Linked DNA regions of Homo sapiens: regions 2, 3, 4 and 5 are each linked to region 1. Evidence: promoter capture Hi-C in 16 types of primary human blood cells and fetal thymus (Javierre and others, 2016). All regions are on one chromosome and are shown on one strand. The core of a region is centred on a gene start or on the middle of the fragment in contact, and the rest is flanking DNA. Distances in the headings are between cores, read along the strand shown. Region 1 holds the start of PPP3CC (protein phosphatase 3 catalytic subunit gamma). Region 2 has its middle 8.5 kb from the start of PEBP4. Region 3 overlaps PEBP4 (phosphatidylethanolamine binding protein 4). Region 4 overlaps PEBP4 (phosphatidylethanolamine binding protein 4). Region 5 overlaps PEBP4 (phosphatidylethanolamine binding protein 4).

Region 1 (2,517 bases), core at 5-2,504:
TATTGGAGATTTACGCTTAATCCTATAATCTTTTACCTAACAGCTGTCCAGTAGAATTTTCTGGATGTCCAATAAGGTAGCCGCGTGTAGCTCTTGAACACTTGAAATGTGGCTAGTCCCCTAGAGGAACGGGATTAATTTAAATTTACATAGCTACAACTACTTATCGGTCACTGCGGTAATTGTTAAGACTGGTTTTGCCTGTAACTTGCATATGTTTTATTGGACATCAGTTTCAATATTTCATTTGCATTGCTAAAAGTCAAAATCCTTTTGACTTTGCCAGTTACTCAGTGAGAGGACAGTTGGAGCCAGTTTCTGTTCTAGGCTTACAGTTTTAAGGACAGATAAAGGTTAGTTTTTAACCTCGAGATGAACAGACTGTTAAGTTTCTACGGACTTGCCCATGGGGTTCCACAGTGAGCCTGGGCCGGGGAGGCAGGTACTGTGTCAGGGGGAAGAAAAAAGGGGCTTCTAGCTGGGCAGGTGACACACAGGGCATAGGAAGAGGTCAGTTCTTGTGGCCGAGGAGGTCCGGCCCGGGGGTCCCAGGAGCAGAGATCTCCCTTCTCTTCGATGTGGAAAGTGAGGAGGGAGCAGAGCCTTGCTCAGAAACGGAGCTCCCCCAATCCCCCACCGCCCTAGCTACTGGACTGGAACTAGGATGGACACGAATGTCCTTCTCATTGTACTAACTGCACTCAACAAGCGGGAAAGATGAAGCGAGGGGGTTTAAATGTGTGCGTTTGTTGAATGACCCACAAAAACTGAAGGAGCGCGGCCGGACTGATCACACTCCTTGAGACAAAGCGGGTGGGAGACCCAGAGGTGAGGAGGGTGGTCGCCTGTGGGCGAGGACTGGGAGGCCAGGGGTTCTCGGCGAGGCGGTCCCAGGAGGCGGCGCGGAGCCGCTGCGAGGCCGCAGGGCCGGGTCGCAAGATGGCCGGGCCGGCCTCCCGCGCGGGTCGCGCGGGCCACGCGGGCGGGTTTCAGATGTTCCGGGCCCGGGTAGGGGCTGGCAGGAGAGAAGGGGCCGGCTGCGGGGAGGGCTGGCTGAGAAGAAGCGAAAATGGGCGGTTAGCAGCAGGGACCCGGAGCCGGAGGAGCCGAGAGCAGCGCGTGCGCCGAGCTCTACTGCCTCGCGGGAAGGCGGAAGGGTGGGGAGGGCGGCGCTCGGGGCGGGAGGCCCGGCCGGGTCCGCTAGGACAGCGGGGCCGCTGGGAAGTTGTGAGAGCGGCGCTCGGGGGCGCGCTTGCGTGCACGAGGGCCCGGGCCGCGAGCAGCCGCGGCCGTCCCGGTCGCCACCCTTAGCAGCGGTCGCGGTCGGTGCCGAAGCGGTGTTCCCCGCCTTAGCCGCTGGCGCCTCCCAAGAGAGCGGCCGGTGGGCCCTCGTCCTGTCAGTGGCGTCGGAGGCCGGCGCTGCGGTGGCCGCGCCCTTCTGGTGCTCGGACACCGCTGAGGAGCCGGGGCCGGGCACGGCTGGCTGACGGCTCCGGGCAGCTAAGGCTGCCCGAGGAGAAGGCGGCGGCCGCGGCGTAGGCGCACGTCCGGCGGGCTCCTGGAGCCTGGAGGAGGCCGAGGGGACCATGTCCGGGAGGCGCTTCCACCTCTCCACCACCGACCGCGTCATCAAAGGTGCCTGGCGGGCCGGGCCTTCCTCTGGGACCCGCGGGAAACGGCCTTCGGCTGGGCGGCGGCTCGGGGCGGAGGGAGGCTGGGGCCGGGCTGCGCCCACCCTAGGAGGGCTCGGAGGGGTGTAGACAGAGCCGGGCGGCAGCCTCCGAGAGCAGCCACCCGGACCCGGCGTTTTCTGCTGCACCTGGTCAGGTGCCTGGCCGTCAGTGCCAAGTTCCCTCCCGAAGGGTTCAGGGTGCAGTGGGGACTTCTTCTCCCACCGCCCCGAAGGGCCCGGATCCCTGTCTTTTTTTCTCTTTAAGAAACGACTCGGGGGAAGCCATCGGGGGTGGTGTGAGCAGGGAGTCGACTCTTCCAAGTAAGATATTTAAGATTAGATCTTTCTTGACGTCCGCCCCCCACCCTTTTTTAGGACGTATACCATGTGCCTTTTGACCCGCTTTCTCTAGATCATTGCAAGTCACTGCTATTACTGGAATAAACTTAGTATGAACAAGTCAGATAAATCCATTATATGATGTTTAAAATAAGTTTACGGAGCTCTTGACAGGGTAATGGTATTTTATTTTCCCTTTGGTTATAAAGACTTGGAGAATGACGTTTTCTGATTCATATGTGTACCTGCGTTAGATTTCTGTTGTTGTTATAAGAACAAAATGTAAAGGGCTCTTTGCTCTCTAAATCTTGTAGAGTTTTAGGTTATAGTTGTTTCTCCCTTTAAACTAAGAAGATGGATTACACATAACCACTAATTTATGTGCTGCTTTTATTCAGCCGTAAGTCTTAGGCACAACCCTTCTCTCTGAGATTAACAATCGGTTTGAAAGCGCTATTTTGTAAGAAGGGAATAGACTTAGACCAGCTGTGTTAGTGGCCTCTGGA
Region 2 (2,517 bases), core at 11-2,510, 500 kb after region 1:
AGTACTCCACTTTTAATAGTGAATAGAACAACTAGGCAGAAGACCAATTAAAGAAATGGGAGACTGGCTGGGCATGGTGGCTCACACCTGTCATCCCAGCACTTTGGGAAGCCGAGGTGGGTGGATCACTTGAGGTCAGGAGTTCAAGACCAGCCTGGCCAACATGGAGAAACCATGTCTCTACTAAAAATACAAAAATTAGCTGGGCATGGTGGCAGGCACCTGTAGTCCCATCCCAGCTACTTGGGAGGCTGAGGCAGGAGAATTGCTTGAACCCAGGAGGCAGAGGTTGCAGTGAGCTGAGATCGCTCCACTGCAGTCCAGCCTGGGCAGCAGAGTGAGACTGTCTCAAAAACAAAAAACACAATACATCCCTAAGCCAAAAATTGGAATTCTGAAATGCTTCAAGATTTAAAACTTTGAAGGCCTATGGAATACTACAAGTGAAAAAATCCTACACCTGACCTCATGTGATGGGTCACAGTCAAAACTTTGTTTTATGCACAACATTATTAATAATATTGTATAAAACTATCTTTAGGCTGTGTATAAGGTATATATAAACATAAATAAATTTCATGTTTAGACTTAGGTCCCATCTCCAAAATATCTCATATATGCAAATATTCTAAAATCTGAAAAATTTGAAATTTGAAATACTTCTTGTCCCAAGTGTTTTCGATAAGGGAAACAACTGGTATACCAAGATGTATGGGATGCAGTGAAAGCTGTACATGCTGTAAAATAGCTATAAAAGCTTACATTGAGAAGTTGTAAATGCTTATATTAAAAAAGAAGGAGGATCTCAAATCAACAACCTAAATTTACACCTTAAGGAGCTAGGGAAAAAAAAAAAAAAGAACAAGATAACCCAAAGCTAGCAGAAAGAAAGAAATACTAAAGATTGCAACAGACATAAAATAGAGAACAGAAAAACAGAAAATCAACAAAACCAAAAGTTGGTTCTTTGAAAAACATCAGTAAAATTGACACTATCAGCCAGATTAATTAAAAAACAGAGAAGACTCAAATTACTAAAATAAGAAATGAAGTGAGGAGATTACTCTAAAATTTATAAAAATAAAAATATAAATAATATTTTACAGAAATAAAAAGGGTGATAAGAGATTAATATAAACAATGGGTAAGGTTGTTGGTTATGTAATAAATTTGATAACCCAGATGAAATGGACAAATTCCTGGAAACATAAAACCTACCAAGACTGAATCATAAAGAGATGGAAAGCCTGAATAGATCCACAACTAGTAAGAAGATTGAAGCAGTAATCAAAAATGCCCCAGTGAAGAAAAGTTCTGAACCAGATAGTTTTACTGGTGATTTCTACCAAACATTTAAAGAAGAATGAACACTCATCCTTCTCAAACTCTTCCAAAACATTGGAGAGAATACTCCCTGACTCACTCTGTGAAGCCAGCGTTACTATGATACCAAAGCCAATTTTCTAACCAAAGTTAGAAAAGAAAACCACAAAGCAATATCCCTTAGAAACTCTGATGCAAAAGTCCCCAACAAAATATTAGCATAGATAATTCAACAGTACACCGATAGGATTATACAGCATAACCAAGTGAGATTTATTTCTGGAATGCAAGCATGATTCAACATATAAAAACCAATCAACATAATACCGCCACATTAATAGAATGAAGGAAAAATACTACATGGTCATCTCAATTGATGCAAAAAAAGCATTTGACAAAACTCAACACACTTCCATGATAAAAACAAACTAGGAAGGGAAAGAAGCTTCCTCGATATGATAAAGGCCATATACAAAAAGCCCACAGATAACAACATACTCAATGGTGACAGACTTCAAGTTTTCCTCTAAGATCAGGAACAAAACAAGGATGTATGCATTTGCCACTCTTATTCAACATATATAGAAAGTTCTAGCCAGAGCAATTATGCAAGAAAAGAAATAAAAGGCATCCAAATTAGAAAGGAAGAAGTACAATTATCTGTTTGCAGATGACAATCTTACATATAGAAAACTCTAATTTTTTAAAAAAGAAAAACTGTTAGAGCTAATAAGCAAATTCAGTAAAGTTGTAATTTACAAAATCAACAAACAAAAATCAAATGCATTTCTTTGCTCTAAAAACGAAGAATTCAAATAGGAAATTAGGAAAACAACTCTGTTTATGATTACATAAAGCAGAATAAACTAGGAATAAACTTAACCAAGGAGGTGAAAGACTTGCACACTGAAACTACAAAATTTTGCTAAAATAAATTAAAGAAGAGATAAATGTAAAGACATTCAATGCTCATGGAGTGGAAGACTTAATATTGTTAAAATGACAAAGTTACTCAAAGTGACCTACAGATTAATTGCAACTCCTATGAAAATGTCAATTTTTTTTTACAGAAATAGAAAAACCCATCCTAAAATTTATATATAATCTTGTGGGACCCCAAATAGTCAAAACAGTCTTGAAAAGAAAACATAGTTGAAGGACTCGTACTTTCTGATTACAAAACTTACTACAAAG
Region 3 (2,517 bases), core at 6-2,505, 470 kb after region 1:
AATGGAGCCACCCTGAGTAAGACAGTCGCCGGAGCACGTGGCCGTTCTGTTAAGGTTTCCCCTCAGCCATTAAGTGTTTAACAGACAAGTGATAACAACAACAATGGACATTCTCACTATTGCAAGATGCCCATCACAGGCAGGGCAGGGGTGCGTTCTGTGTGTATCCCTCACTACCGGAACAGTACCTGGCAGAGGGGCAGAGAGTGGAGCTCCATCCGGATCTGCTCCAGTGAATACATGAATGACTGAATGACACCCCCTCTCCACTGTCAACATTACAGGCCTGTTTTCAGGAACCGGGGGATTCCGGAGGCAAAATTACATAGGTGAAAGGTAGTTGACTGCAAGCCAGGGAAGCTGCCATCCGGGGCTGGTTCTCCCACTTCCCAGGTTTGGCAAGTGTGACCCTGGGCAGCGCCCTCATCTGTCATCAAGGGGATAATCCCCGCTCTATCCATCGCCCCATGTTGCTAGGAGGATCTGTCCTGTGAAGTCCTGCATAGGAAGTGTCTTTGCAACCTGAACATCTAACTGCAAAGGTTAGAAATGCTGACAATCCTCACTCCCCTTTCACCCAGTCCAGTTGCACCCAGAGGAGCCCCGGATGACCTGGCTGGGGACCTGGGCTAGAGTGGGACACAGCTGAGTGATGTTAGCACTTTGACTACTTGCACTGAAGGAGCCAGGGACAAAGGATAAAATGACCTGATTCGTCCTTGCCTGGGTGCTGCGCGCCCTCCTCACCTGCCTTCCCACACCTGGCTCCGCCTGTTAGCACCTGAGCCCTTCATTTACAAGCTCAGCGGCCTCCTGTCCCCTCTGCCTCTGGGCCTCAAACACACACAGTTCTCCTGGAACCTTGGAAAGTCCAACTCTTCTTTTGTGTCTTCTGTCCTTCAGACTACAAATCCATCTCTTTCTATTGTAGTGACAACTGATCCCATCCATGAAACTCCAGTTAGGTGCTCGGCACCAAATACAGTGGCATCTCATGAATTCTTCCCTAAACCCTCACCTGATGCACTGGTGATCTCCCCAGGGTGGCCCCTTACCCTGTCCTGACTTTACCTTCTGCTCCCAGCCCGCAGTCCTGGAACGATCCAGATCCAGTGGCTCTTCCCCAGCCTGGCCCCATGCAGCCTCTCCCAGCAGTGGAGCCTGGTGACTCCTGCTCCCCATTCCTGCCTCTTCCCTGCACCTCCCTCCTCTGTGCACCTTTACTTCTTCTGCAATGTCCGTGACATCATCATTCCCCACGCTCTGCCCCAAAGTCCTTCCACCCTGCAATTTCATGACATTGCCTCTTCCCCCTGCAGTAGGGGCTTGGCTGGCTGAGCTCCAGCTCCCAGGGCCAGCATAGGGCAGCCCCCTCCAGCCCCTGCGGCCACACCTGCACCCCTCCTGCCCACTATCCCCTTCCTCCTCCTCTTCCCTCAGAAGCATCTCCGGCACCTCCCACCCCTGACTTCCAGTCAGTGGCCAGGTCCCATTGGCTCCAAAGGAGCTGGACACCCTTTGAAATATCCTCCTAACTCCCACCATTCACACCGTTTATCACCTTGGAATGAGCATTTCCAGTCGACCCCTCAACCCCTCCTTCTGCTGTATTTTGACACTGCCCTTTTATTGGCTCCTTCCTGCCAGAATTTACTTATTTATTTAGAGTTGGGGTCTTGCTCTGTTGCCCAGGCTGAAGTGCAGTGGCACAATCATAGCTCCTTAGCCTATTGCAGCCTTGAACTCCTGGGTTCAAGTGATTTTCCCACCTTAGCCTCCCCAGTACCTAGGACTACAGGTGTGAACTACCAGGCCTGGCTACTTTTTTTTTTTTTTTTTTTTGAGACAGAGTCTTGCTCTGTTGCCCAGGCTGGAGTATAGTGGCGCGATCTAGGCTCACTGCAACCTCTGCCTCCTGGGTTCAAGTGATTCTCCTATCTCAGCCTCCCAAGTACCTGGGATTACAGGCATGTGCCACCACACCCAGCTAAGTTTTGTATTTTTAGTAGAAATGGGGTTTCACCATGTTTGCCAGGCTGATCTCCTGACTTCAAGTGATCTGCCCACCTCAGCCTCCCAAAGTGCTGGGATTACAGGCATCAACCACCATAAGGCCTGGTTAACTTCATTTTTTTGTAGAGATGGGGTCTCTAACTCCTGACCTCAAGCAAATCCTCCTGTCTTGGGCTCCCAAAGTGCTGGGATTAGAGATGTGACCCACTTCGTAAATATTACTGAACACATACTGTGCCCAGCCCCTGCCAGCACTTAAACATTCGCAGGCATCTCTTCTCCCCTGGCAAAGCGGTGGTGTGAGTAGCCTACTCCATGGGATCCACTCCTCATTCACTCCTTGGTCCCCTCACACGGGTAACCAGTGGCTTGCTGGGGTAAGGCAGTGCGTGCGTTTCCTGTGGCCTCACCCAACCTCTCTGGCTGGCTGCTGTTGAGCATAGCAGAGCCTACCCGCAGGTAAACCTGTCCTCCTCTCAGAGTCCACGCCTGCTGGAACACTGA
Region 4 (2,517 bases), core at 8-2,507, 450 kb after region 1:
CCAGAATAGCATATCAGTGAGCTGTGGGACATCTTCAAGTAGCCAAATATACATGCAATAGGAGTCCCTAAAATTCCCTTTTAGGGAATATTAGAAAAAATATTAGAAGACATAATGGCTGAAAAATGTCTTAATTTGATGAAAACTGTAAACCCACAGATCCCAGAAGCCCAACCAAAGAAATGCCAAGCACAAGACACATGAGAAAACTACACCAAACACATCACAATCAAATTGCTTAAAACCAGTGAAGATGAGAGCACAGGTTACCATTAGCAAATGTGTCACTGGCAGCCCGCGGCATATAGTAGCAAAATAATCTTGATTATCAAGTGTGATTACCTAGAACAAAGTACCCATTGAAGATAAGAGTTTGGCGGAATTGCACGATAGATTATTATGTCAGAATGATGAATATAAAGATGTTGGAATAAGATGACTTCTTCTGCCAGAAGTGGGAAAAGTAAAGAAAAATGGTTAGAAGCTTGAGGTTTAAATTCTTGGCACAGCCATGCATAGTGGCTCACTCTATAATCCCAGCACTTTGGGAAGCCAAGGCAGATGGATGGCTTCAGCCCAGGAGTTCGAGACCAGCCCAGGCAACATGGTAAGACCCTGTCTCTACAAAAAATAAAAAATAAATAAAAAAAATTCCAAGCATAGTGGCATGTGCCTGTAGTCCCAGCTACTCAGGAGGCTGAGGTGGGAAGATTGCTTGATTCCAGGAGGTCAAGGCTGCAGTGAACCGTAATCATGCCACTGCACTCCAGCTTGGGCAACAGAGTGAGACCCTGTCTCTAAAAATAAAATAAAATAGTAATAAATTCTTGGCTCAAGGCTCAATCAGAAGAGCAAGGAACAGTTAAGACTATCCTGAAAGAATCTCCCACGGTTTGTAGTTTCAGGGCCAACAAAACTGAAATCAGAAGTGAAGTCTGACCCAGCAGGTTGTAGAATTACAACCTAAGTTAAGTTCACAGCCTCATCAGGTCTCTTATGGGAGATGGTGTTGACTGGGAAAGATGGAACCCTGTGAATGGGGATGCTGAATTCATATAACTGAGTCTTAGACCCTGCTGAGCCTCCCTTTCCAGCAGAAGCTGCCCCTTTTCCCCAGGTCCTGTCTTGCAAGAGAATCCTGATTCTCCCTGAGGTCGACACTTACCACCCCTGGCTGCTCCTGACCTATTCTAGAATCAGATTTCAGCATGGCCAAGGGAGACAAGCACAAAGTCTGATTCTGAAACAGTAGACTTTCACACCAAAGTAGGTGCCATTTGTTTTTTAATATTTATTGGCAGAAATCTGAGAAATGTATAGTAAGGTGCTGATCACGGAGGAAAGAAGATCATTTTCAATTGGGCCATATTGATCAATATGGATTCTGGATCCAAAGTACTGGCTGGATCATCTGGGTATGGTTCTGTTCACTCAGTGGGTTATCTGAAATGAAACCTGAACTGAATGGCATCCTATACTAAATAAAGCTAAGGTGACAGAAGTTCCTTGATATAAAGCAAGGAATCTTAATACCTGGAGAGGCATAATAATGTTGGGGTGGGCTTACACATGTGTTCCCCACATACCCTCCTTCACTCTGTCCCAGGAGAACATACTTTCTTCACAAGCATTTAGACATGCTTTGGTGAGGGGGACACCGGCATTCTGTTTTCCTTGGTTGTCTTCAGAATTTATCTTTGGTTTTTAGCAGTTTGATCATGACACATCTAGGTGGATTTTTTTAAAAATTCTGATTAAGGTTCTCTGAGTATCTTGGACTTGTGGTATGTTGCCTTTCTTTAACAAGTTCTTGGTCATTATCTCTTCAAATAGTTCTACTCTGCTCTCTTTTCTTAATGAGATCCCAACTATACATATGTTAGACCATTTTATGTTGTCTCACAATGCTTGGGTGCTCTGTTCTGTCCCCCAGCCTTCTTTTCTCTCTTTATATTTCTTTAGATCATTTCTGTTGCTCTATCTTCAAGTTCACTGATTTTTCCAGTTTATATGTTACGTCTAATTTGCTGAGAAGCTTAAGTTCCTGTTTCAGTAACCTGACTAGTTTTCCAAGTTTGTCGGAAGTTCTGCTTTTTTGGCCACATCCTTGAACCCAGCCTAGGTGGCATTGGCCCTGCTTCCCATGGGCAGGTTTCTTCATGCCAGCCTCTCTGCCTGTGCTCCCAGTTACTGCCTACCTACTGCCCCCTCTGCCCTGGGGCAGATTTGCTGTGTGGCATCAGACAGTTGCCTGAAAGTTGCTGGTATTGTGGTTGGAGAGATGAAACCATGTTCCCAAATCCCACATCCTTGCATCAAGTAAGAAAAGTGCCACTGGAACCTAGAATGATGTGGGAACCCAGAAGAAGAAGATGTCCTAGTCTGGGAGGAGAGACAGGGAATGGAGCTTGGACAATCACTGTCATAGCTGGAGTGTGATCTGATGAAGATCTGAACTAGAGAAATACATAGGCCACGGTAATACTAATTAATCAGGAATGGTTGAGTTTTGCTCCC
Region 5 (2,517 bases), core at 8-2,507, 310 kb after region 1:
GGCAGCTCCCACAACTGCCAAGAGACTGAAGCTGAACTTCAAGGCAGAGTCCTCCAGAGTGGCTTAGGCAAAGTCTCCACCTTGCTGAAGCCCTTCCTGGTCCACCACTCCTTGTGGAGGAGAGGGGAAGGTGGGAGCCAGGGTCTGGGGCTTTGCCGGGCTGGTGGCCGCCTCAACATTGGCTTTGGGATGAATCTCAGGACCAGACTTCCCCGCCCTTGTGTGGGAGGTGTGAGGGGCTGGAGCTGGGAGGCAGGAAGTGAGCGCAGATGGGCTACCGCCTGGACAGCTGTGCGGGGAACAGAGCACATCTGTCTGGGTGTGAGTGGGGCCCCTCCCCACAACCTCTGCTGATTCTACATGTTTGATAGGGTGTGGGCTGAGGGTGTGGGCTGAGGGTCCCAAATGGGGAAGAAGATGGGAAAGTCTGACTATAGAGCAGGAACGAGGGTTGCTGATGGGGTATGTTCAGATGGAGGGAGAGGAGGGTTGAAGAGAAAGTGGAAAATGGAAGCAAACAGATCAAATTTTATCTTTCTCAGGATGGGCTCTGGGCTTTCAGCGGCTCTCCAAGCCCCAGGGTCTGATGTCTGTTCCTCTGGGAAGCTGCCCTAGACCCCTGGCCGCCCCACCCACAGGGTGCTCCCTCCTGGTGCTTCCAGTATCTTACATCGTAGTTGTGAAAGTCCCTGGGATAACTGCTCATTTTTCTACCTTACCTACTGGACTGCGGGTGTATTAAGATCAGAGACCTTGTCTCTGTGACTGAATCCTCACTCTGTAGACGTGTGTTGAGTGAATGAATGATTTTATGACCTTAACCAACACAAATTTTTCTATTTAATTCCTTAATTTTTCTCTAATTGGCTTTAAAAATTGCTAGGAAAGCTTATCCCAAGTAGATGCCTGGGAGATCTTTGGGAGTTAGAAGCTGGAGTAGATTTCTCATCAGAAATTTGCCAGCAGGCCTGGAAGTGAGAGAGCCTTTTGCTCTTTTCAGGGAGCAAAGCAGAGAGGAAAGGCTCATTCTAGAAACTGCACACCCTGACTTGGCTTCATGGCCATTTGTGTGGCCTCCTTGGGGCGGTTGGTCTCCCTCCACATGAAGCTGTCATCTGCCTGATATTGAGCCAGCTAGGCAGGGAGTATGGATCACACAGACCTCTGCAGGCTCAGGAGGTGGATAATTTCCCCACATCTCTCCCCTCCCTCACCTCTCTCTGGTTTTCACAGTGCAATGAAAGGATGTGGGAGTTTGAGACCCATCTCTGCTGTGTGGCCCTGGGTGAGTCAGTTCTCCTCTTTGGGCCTCAGTGTTCTCATCTATAGAATGGGAGGGCTGGACTGAGACTCCTTCCGGCTCTTAACTACTGTGAATCTGGTAGGCTAATGAGGAGGGAATATGGCCCTTGGTGGTTATTACTGTCTCCTGAGAGCCTGGGCTGGGGCTTTCCCTTAACTTAGGTGTGGGAAAGTGGGGAAGGGCCCAAGAGGCCATTATTCCACTCCCGGGTTTCGAAACCACTCCTGAGTTCACCTGCTGCTATAACGGTGACTCTTCTTGGATGATTTAGTTGAGTCTTGCCTGGAGTCCAAAGATCTGCTTGAGTGATTCTTAAATGTTTCTCAAGCTTCTGCTCCTGGCTTTCTATTATCTAGCGGAGTGTAACAGAAATGCCAATAGGCAGGAAGGAAGAGCTGAAGTTCCCAGGGCTTTGGGCCAAAATCGTATACTCATTTCTCTCCCTCTTTTTTTTTTTTTTTTTTTTTTTTTTTGAGACGGAGTCATGCTCTGTCACCCAGGCTGCCGCGCAGTGGCGTGATCTCGGCTCATTGCAACCTCTGCTTTCCGGGTTCAAGCGTTTCTCCTGCCTCAGCCTCCTGAGTAGCTGGGATTACAGGTGCCCGCCACCACACTCAGCTAATTTTTGTATTTTTAGTAGAGATGGGGTTCTACCATGTTGGCCAGTCTGGTCTCAAGCTCCTGACCTCAAGTAATCCATCCACCTTGGCCTCCCAAAGTGGTGGGATTACAGGCGTGAGCCACCGTGCTGGGGCAAAATTGTATACTCTTTTCTAACATCATTTTTGTCATCATCATCACCATCCATTACTGATAATGTTAGACATTTATTGTTCTTTTTTTTCAGCCATGTGCAGTGGGTAAGTACATCAGCAAGCAAACTGGCCTCAAGAATCCCGCCCTATCCTGGGCATCTGGGGTTGAGGCTGGCTGTGCCAACCTTTGCACAGGGTTTCAATCTGACCTCACTCAGAAAACGGAGCCACTTGCTTAGAGTCCCTCTCTCTGAACACGCTCTCCCCTCTGGAGGAAAAGCATTGCAATCCCAAGCTCCTGCTGCTGCCGTACATCTGCATCTTATTCATCTTTGAAGCTCCTGCAATGCCTCCAACGGGGACACAACTAAAGGTGCTCGCTAAATACTTATTGATAATAATCATTATAATGATGTATCATAATAGATTCAGCGGGGAAGTTGGCTACTGAGCTGCCCT

The links. Contacts are between HindIII fragments. The CHiCAGO score rates a contact against its expected background, and 5 or more counts as called.
Region 2: a fragment that was not itself captured here is called in contact with the fragment with the promoter of PPP3CC in region 1 in 3 of 17 cell types (endothelial precursors, M1 macrophages and naive CD4 T cells); the score reaches 8.5 in endothelial precursors.
Region 3: a fragment that was not itself captured here is called in contact with the fragment with the promoter of PPP3CC in region 1 in 11 of 17 cell types (naive CD8 T cells, activated CD4 T cells, total CD8 T cells and 8 more); the score reaches 13.1 in naive CD8 T cells.
Region 4: a fragment that was not itself captured here is called in contact with the fragment with the promoter of PPP3CC in region 1 in 2 of 17 cell types (M2 macrophages and endothelial precursors); the score reaches 7.1 in M2 macrophages.
Region 5: a contact is called between a fragment that was not itself captured here and the fragment with the promoter of PPP3CC in region 1, in 6 of 17 cell types (non-activated CD4 T cells, naive B cells, naive CD4 T cells and 3 more). The highest score is 6.9, in non-activated CD4 T cells.

What each region holds. Positions count from the first base shown.
Region 1 is chr8:22,439,824-22,442,340 of GRCh38, forward strand. PPP3CC (protein phosphatase 3 catalytic subunit gamma) reads left to right here and starts at 1,255. Exons shown (of 14, transcript NM_005605.5): 1 at 1,255-1,635. The coding sequence starts at 1,587. RefSeq lists silencers at 838-1,027, 1,118-1,777. The HindIII fragment of the contact is 13,070 bases long and covers 1-2,517 here.
Region 2 is chr8:22,935,174-22,937,690 of GRCh38, forward strand. It overlaps a transcript of PEBP4 not described here. Among named protein-coding and RNA genes, the nearest start is that of PEBP4, 8.5 kb to the left of the region's middle. The HindIII fragment of the contact is 1,011 bases long and covers 756-1,766 here.
Region 3 is chr8:22,912,164-22,914,680 of GRCh38, forward strand. All of the region lies in intron 3 of PEBP4 (phosphatidylethanolamine binding protein 4), which reads right to left. Among named protein-coding and RNA genes, the nearest start is that of PEBP4, 14 kb to the right of the region's middle. RefSeq lists enhancers at 1-232, 233-1,004. The HindIII fragment of the contact is 5,686 bases long and covers 1-2,517 here.
Region 4 is chr8:22,893,784-22,896,300 of GRCh38, forward strand. All of the region lies in intron 3 of PEBP4 (phosphatidylethanolamine binding protein 4), which reads right to left. LOC124901907 (a long non-coding RNA gene) reads right to left here. Exons shown (of 2, transcript XR_007060854.1): 2 at 1,268-2,517. Among named protein-coding and RNA genes, the nearest start is that of PEBP4-AS1, 17 kb to the left of the region's middle. The HindIII fragment of the contact is 1,551 bases long and covers 483-2,033 here.
Region 5 is chr8:22,753,578-22,756,094 of GRCh38, forward strand. All of the region lies in intron 4 of PEBP4 (phosphatidylethanolamine binding protein 4), which reads right to left. LOC107986925 (a long non-coding RNA gene) reads left to right here. Exons shown (of 3, transcript XR_007060852.1): 1 at 1-1,285; 2 at 2,151-2,431. Among named protein-coding and RNA genes, the nearest start is that of EGR3, 61 kb to the left of the region's middle. RefSeq lists an enhancer at 1,486-1,595. The HindIII fragment of the contact is 743 bases long and covers 887-1,629 here.